Regions from separate parts of the Homo sapiens genome. Here region 1 is linked to region 2. Evidence: promoter capture Hi-C in 16 types of primary human blood cells and fetal thymus (Javierre and others, 2016). All regions are on one chromosome and are shown on one strand. Each heading gives the region's core, a stretch centred on a gene start or on the middle of the fragment in contact. The rest is flanking DNA. Distances are from core to core; before and after follow the strand shown.

Region 1 (2,862 bases), core at 161-2,660, 2.1 Mb before region 2:
TGAGAAAATATTTTTGTGCAAAGTACCAACAGAATAACATACACAGCAACTATTTACATGGGGCAGACGAAGGCTACAATTTAAGCAATTGCCAGATTCTCAGGATTGAGTCCTGATTTGAGATCACAGGGAGTAAGCTGTGACATCTTGGCTACTACTGATCAATAACAAGGACATTATTGAGGGCTTACCCTGTGTGAGGCACTGTGCTGACAGCACATATTATGTCAAATAACCCTCAAAATGATCCTTCCTGCCATGTGTCATTATCACAATGATTTGGCTCTTCTTAAGGCAGTTTACTTTGGTCTGCTTTCAAAGAAAAGTTGCAGTAACAGAAAGGGTCAAGAACCAAATGTATGCTATTAACACTTTCAGAAACAGAGCTCATTCAAAACAATTTTCCAAAATAACAAAATGTGAAGAATATGTAACAGTGACCGTTTTAAACACCTGCACTTATTCTTTCTGTACATGTATTCTTTCGCCTGGTACTAGGAAAACGTCCAACACCAGAGGTCCCTCCCCAGTTTAAAGTACTTCTGTCAAGTTGTTAACGCCTCATCTGTACCTGAGGAAAAGTAGAGTTTTTCCGTTTTTTATATATGGAAATCTGGGCATCTGAGAGAGGAAGGTCAGAAAAGTACTCAAAGTAGGCTAGGACGAGTTTGGCAGTGAACTCAAGAGCTGGTGGATTAGTGAGGGCGAGGGAGAGGGGAAGCCCAGCCACTGCTGTTCTGTCACCCGGTGGCCGCGGCTGCCGGGTCCGCTCTCGTGGGGCAAACACTCCGCATCCCGTCCCCTTCCCTGCAACCCGGCGCAGCTTCGTGGGAGGGGAGCCTCTCCTCAAAGCAGCCCCTGTCCCCAAGCCAGGTGCTGTCTGGTCAGCTGCCGGGAACGGATGTTCCACTCCTCCCTCACCCCGGCAGAGCAGCAGGTGAAGGGAGGTCCAAGAGGCCCACTCCTTCCCCCGAGGGCACCCCGACCCGGGCACCCGCACCTTGATGGGCTTGGTGTCGTTGGGGCCGAGGCACTGGCCATGCATCTCCTCCATGGCCCTGCAGGCCTGTGAGCTGCGGGCGAACTTGACGAAAGCAATGCCCTTGGACTCCTTGGTGTGCTTGTCCCGCACCACCCAGATGTCCTGGATGTCGCCAAAAGGCGAGAAGCGCTCCCTCAGCACCGACTCAGGTGTGTACTTGCTGATCACAAGGAAGATGCGGCTGTTGGGCGGTTCGTCCAGGCTGTCCACGCCCGGGCGGAAGCCCCCGCCGCTCGCAGAGCTGCCAGCTTCGTCCATGGTGCTCCACCCGAATGCAGGAGCCTCACTGCTCTTTGCTTCTGCGGTGTCTGCCACCGCTGCTGTCTCACACCCAAGCCTTTGCCGGCTCGGTGCTCCGCTTCCGGGAGAAAGAGGAGTCCGGCGCCAGGCGCTGTCCAGCCGCGCAGGATGAGGCCTTCCGGGGAGCGGCCTGCAGCGCCCCCTGGCGACGCGGGGGACCCTGACCCAGTCTAAGTCTCAAATCCTCAAATCCAGCTGAGCCTAGGCCCAAGTTATCAGTTGTGCAATCGTTCCCTGCAGGCAGAACAGCGCTGCCTAATGCACAGGCTTTCCCAACGCTGGCTTTACCCCACCCCTAAGGCCAAGGATTCTTTCCAGTGTTAAAGAAAAAATTATTCATGACACTCGTTAGAGATGGTACAGGAAGGCCGACTTTGACAAAGGGAGCCATGGAGATAGGTCCAGGGACAGCTGCAATGGGGTCTTGCAGTGGGAGAGAGAGATTGGACTGAATTTTGACTCTAATAAGGACAAATTTCTAACCAAGAAGCTTGGTGGGAGGTCAGTGGATGGAAAATTACAAAGAGGGAACATCAGTGTTAAGGAGGATTCTGGCTAAACCAACTTGACAGGATAGTTGCTGAAGGCAGGCCAGGGTGATTGATATCCATGGTAGTCAGACACCAAGAATGAGGATTTTCACTACACTGATTCAGCAGGATTCTTGCTCAAATTGGATTCTACAAGGACAGAAAGCCCAAGATCAAGCCTAGTCAAGCAGAGGACTCAAAGGAGCCTAACTAAGTTTTGGTCAAAGTGGAGAGTTGTCACCATCTTGGTCATAAGCTCAATAGATGATCAATATAGGACAGAGTTCAAACTATATAGCATTAGAGTTGGAAGGAAGCTTTGAGATCATTCAATTTCAGCGTCATTTGTTAGAGATGAGGAAACTGAGGCCTATAGCATAGCCAAAGTAATAGAGATAAAAAGTACGACTAAAACCAGAACTAACTTGGCCAGGCGCAGTGGCTCACGTCTGTGATCCCAGCACTTTGGGAGGCCGAGGCGGGCGGATCACGAGGTCAGGAGATCGAGACCATCCTGGCTAACACGGTGAAACCCCGTCTCTACCAAAAAAATACAAAAAAATTAGTTTGGCGTGGTGGCGGGCACCTGTAGTCCCAGCTACTCAGGAGGCTGAGGCAGGAGAATGGTGTGAACCCAGGAGGCACAGCTTGCAGTGAGCAGAGTTTGCACCACTGCACTCCAGCCTGGGGGATAGAGCGAGACTCCACCTCAAACAACAACAACAACAACAAAAAACCCAGAACTAACTCCATCTGTTGATTTACTCAACTTCTACAAGCAACCCTGGGGTTGGAGGGCAGTGAGGGTGGACTGCTCAGCTGTGGAACTAAGAGAAATCATAGAGTGCAAGCAAAGTGGGAAATGCCTTCTTGTTAACAAGCCTTAGAGGAGAGGTCAGAAACCCAGTAGAAATCCAGAAACAAGGCCTGGATTTAGCAGTGGCATTGGAATGAAGTGAAAGGAATAAACCCCTAAGTAGACCGAGGGCG
Region 2 (3,027 bases), core at 493-2,992:
TTCTACATTTCAGTTTCCTCATTTGAAAAATGATACTAAAAAGGTTGTTGGGAGGATTAAAAGAGTTAATGATTAAATACTTCTCTCCCTTCTCTTTCCAGGTCAAATCTCTACTCTCGGTAGAGCAATTCCCTAGGGAATTTTATCTCAGGATTAGGTTTTTGGAATCTCGTGTATCCAGACAGCTCTTCTCTGTCCCCTTGCTACCCTTTTTTCAGAGGTGGGGTATCGCTTGGTAGCCCAGGCTGGAGTACAGACACTGATGGCTCAATTGAAACCAGAGGACACATTACTGGCAAGTGGAAAGCCGTTCTTCCCAGTCTTCTTAGGAAAGGAGATCTTTCTGCGGTGAGATATATTTGCAAAACTGCACAGGACTTTAATACTTTGCAACAGCAAAGGTTGAAAAACAAAACGGTTAAATTTCCACATCAAAACAGGTGAAATGTTTCTGTTCATTTTCTTCTACATTTGGAAAGTGCCTGATCCACAGTGACACGCTAAACTTCAGTTCCCTTCCCCTCATCCTTGCAAGTGTACAGAACTGTAACTAAATATTTAGGCAATTAGGGCAAGCAAATTGCACAGTGAATTATGCGGTAGCTTCTAGTATAATAAATTTTCTTACCAACCAAACAATGCTCAGTTGCTTCTCTTGACAACCTGTTTGCATCGTCAAAGTTTAAATGTAACATATTAAAACTATTACTCTTTAAAAAATCATTGAAACTTTTTTGTGTATAAATAAAAAAATAGAATAAAAATAAATAAAAAATAGAAAAAAACCCATGAAAAATGTTTGCACATGGGGTAAAGCATGTAAAAGGGGTAAAGCATGATAAAAACCTTCGCTGAAGTTTCCCTGCTCACACATTACTGTGTGCACGTCTAGTCTTTTTCTCATTCAGGCATCATTTGTTATTTGTCTTTTCCAGTTGAGGAGGACACTTAATACCGTTTCGGCAGCGTTTCAAATCCGAGTCAAATATAGCCTGAGTGGTTTTTTTGTGGGTCCACCTATCAGGGCCTGTGAAGAGTGTTCTTGGGGTTAAGAGTTCTAAGATAGAAAACTCAGCTTATGCTGTTACCCGCAGGTTTTAAAGCAACATGATACGGCGTTTGAAGCTTACCTCACACCGGTGAGGTAAGCGTCCAGTCATCAAATGACCCTTTTTGACGTCCAAGAGTGACAGAGCCTCAAGCACTCCTGGGGACCGGGCTGACTTTTCTCCACTGGCTTGGTTGGGAACTGGCTTCTTCGGAGCTGTGTAGTCTTAATTTGCTTTGCTGCTGGCTGGCTGACAGCTGATGGGGGACTCCTCAGGACGGACTCCCTTCCAGATGCACCCATCTCCATCCTTCTCAACTCCCCAACCTTTGTCCTCCCCACTCTTCGCTCGCGCGGCGGTCTGAGACCACCAGGACCAGTTTCAGGGGTTTCCTTCTCCAGCGAGACTTGGCAGAACAGGCTTTAAAAGCAAAGGAGGCAGCGGAAGAGTAAGAAATAACTATATTCTAAGAGTCATAATAAATGGCAGTACATAACTGCGACACGACACCGAGCAGCCTAAGCTGGCTGCGGAGGCCACAAACACAAGATCCTAACCTCCCGGCCGACCCGCCCCAACAACTACCCGCCCAGGGTACGGTCACGTGACGGGGGAGCGGCGCGCGCCGACCGCGGCGCCAATTGGCGAGCGGCTGGAGCGCGGGGTTTCATGGGAAGGAGTTGGCCCGGCTTGTCTCTCTGTCAGTGGCGGCTGCTGCCTGCTCTGGAGGCAGGCTGGGCGGTGGCGGCCGAGACTGGCGGGGGTGGACGCCCGGGCCGGGCTGCGCCCGCTTCTTGCAGGTAGAACGCTCAAGGCGAGGGCAGTTGGGAGGGCTCTGCAGCGGGGAGGCATGCTGAGCTGTGCCCCTGGGAAATAAGCTGCGGGTTCCCCGCTTGCCTCTCCTTGGTGCCCCCGCCTCCTGCCAAGTGGCCTAGAGCTCTGCGGCGGCTGCTAGTCAGGCTGCGCGGTGGTCCGCGCAGACCCAGGCTCGCCGCCTTGTTCCCTGGATTTCCCAGCACACTGGCAGTGGTGGCGCTGGAGTCTTGAAACCCTTGTTTCCCCTCTAGGGCTGGTAGTTTCTCCAGCTCGGTTCTAGGAGATTCCGGGTGGTGACTGGCTTGAGCCCCAGCTCTTTGGCCCACTTGTGTCGAGCTTATCTCGACACAGGTGGGGCAAAGAGGTCAGAAGGTCCCAAACTAGCATTTCCTACGCTCAGCTGTCCGCTTTGAGCGTTCTCTCCGCTTCTCTTTCTGAGTTGTGCGGAGGCTCCAAGAGTTAGAAAGACCAGAAGGGACTGAAAACTGTCAGTGTCATGCTGCCGGGCTCTAGCGTGTGGGCGTGGAGTACGTGCTACTTAGAGAAGAGACTCTCCAACCATTGTCCTTATTTCAGGGATGGTGGGCTGTGGGGTGGAGGGGAAGGGCGAAGGTGCATTGTATCAGAGGCGTGGTAGGAGGAGAAAAACAAATCTAAATTCCGTCAGTTCATAGTTTACGGATTGAGAAAGAGTTGAAATTGGTCAACTCAGCTTTGCTGATGGTGCTTTCACAGTACTAAGCAAGACCCGTGAATCACTGAGTTTTCCGTGTTCTGCTTTTCCCAGTTGGCCTCCGGTGTGTGTTGCTCGGTGTCTACTGTTTCCTCCTTTCTTTATGGCCTGGGTGTCAGCATTGACAAAATTGACTCTATTCAACAGCGGTTTGGTGGGTGTGAGTAAGCTTGGTTTCAGGAATATGTTCAAACTGGCAGGGAATGCTCATTTCTTTTCCTCAGCAGCCCCCAGAAGACCAAGTTGACTTTTAACACATTTTCTTAAACAGGAGTGGTGCGTTTAAATTAGAATTTTAAGGTTGTCTGTTATCTATTGAGATCAGCTCAGTAATGATGTTAGTAAACTTATATAGTGTTTATATGTTATATAAACAAGAAAATACAAGAAAAGGAGAAGTTATATGGCTATTAAAAATATATGACTTCA

What was found. The method cuts DNA at HindIII sites, captures the fragments that hold promoters and counts their contacts. A CHiCAGO score of 5 or more calls a contact.
Region 1: a contact is called between the fragment with the promoter of RBM45 here and the fragment with the promoter of LNPK in region 2, in 6 of 17 cell types (activated CD4 T cells, non-activated CD4 T cells, total CD8 T cells and 3 more). The highest score is 9.7, in activated CD4 T cells.

The regions. Positions count from the first base shown.
Region 1 is chr2:178,110,985-178,113,846 of GRCh38, reverse strand. RBM45 (RNA binding motif protein 45) reads right to left here and starts at 1,410. Exons shown (of 10, transcript NM_152945.4): 1 at 1,001-1,410. The coding sequence starts at 1,300. RefSeq lists an enhancer at 1,205-1,374. The HindIII fragment of the contact is 3,392 bases long and covers 1-1,834 here.
Region 2 is chr2:176,000,982-176,004,008 of GRCh38, reverse strand. It overlaps LNPK (lunapark, ER junction formation factor), which reads left to right and starts at 1,742. Exons shown (of 13, transcript NM_030650.3): 1 at 1,742-1,849. RefSeq lists an enhancer at 1,329-1,548. The HindIII fragment of the contact is 1,642 bases long and covers 1,128-2,769 here.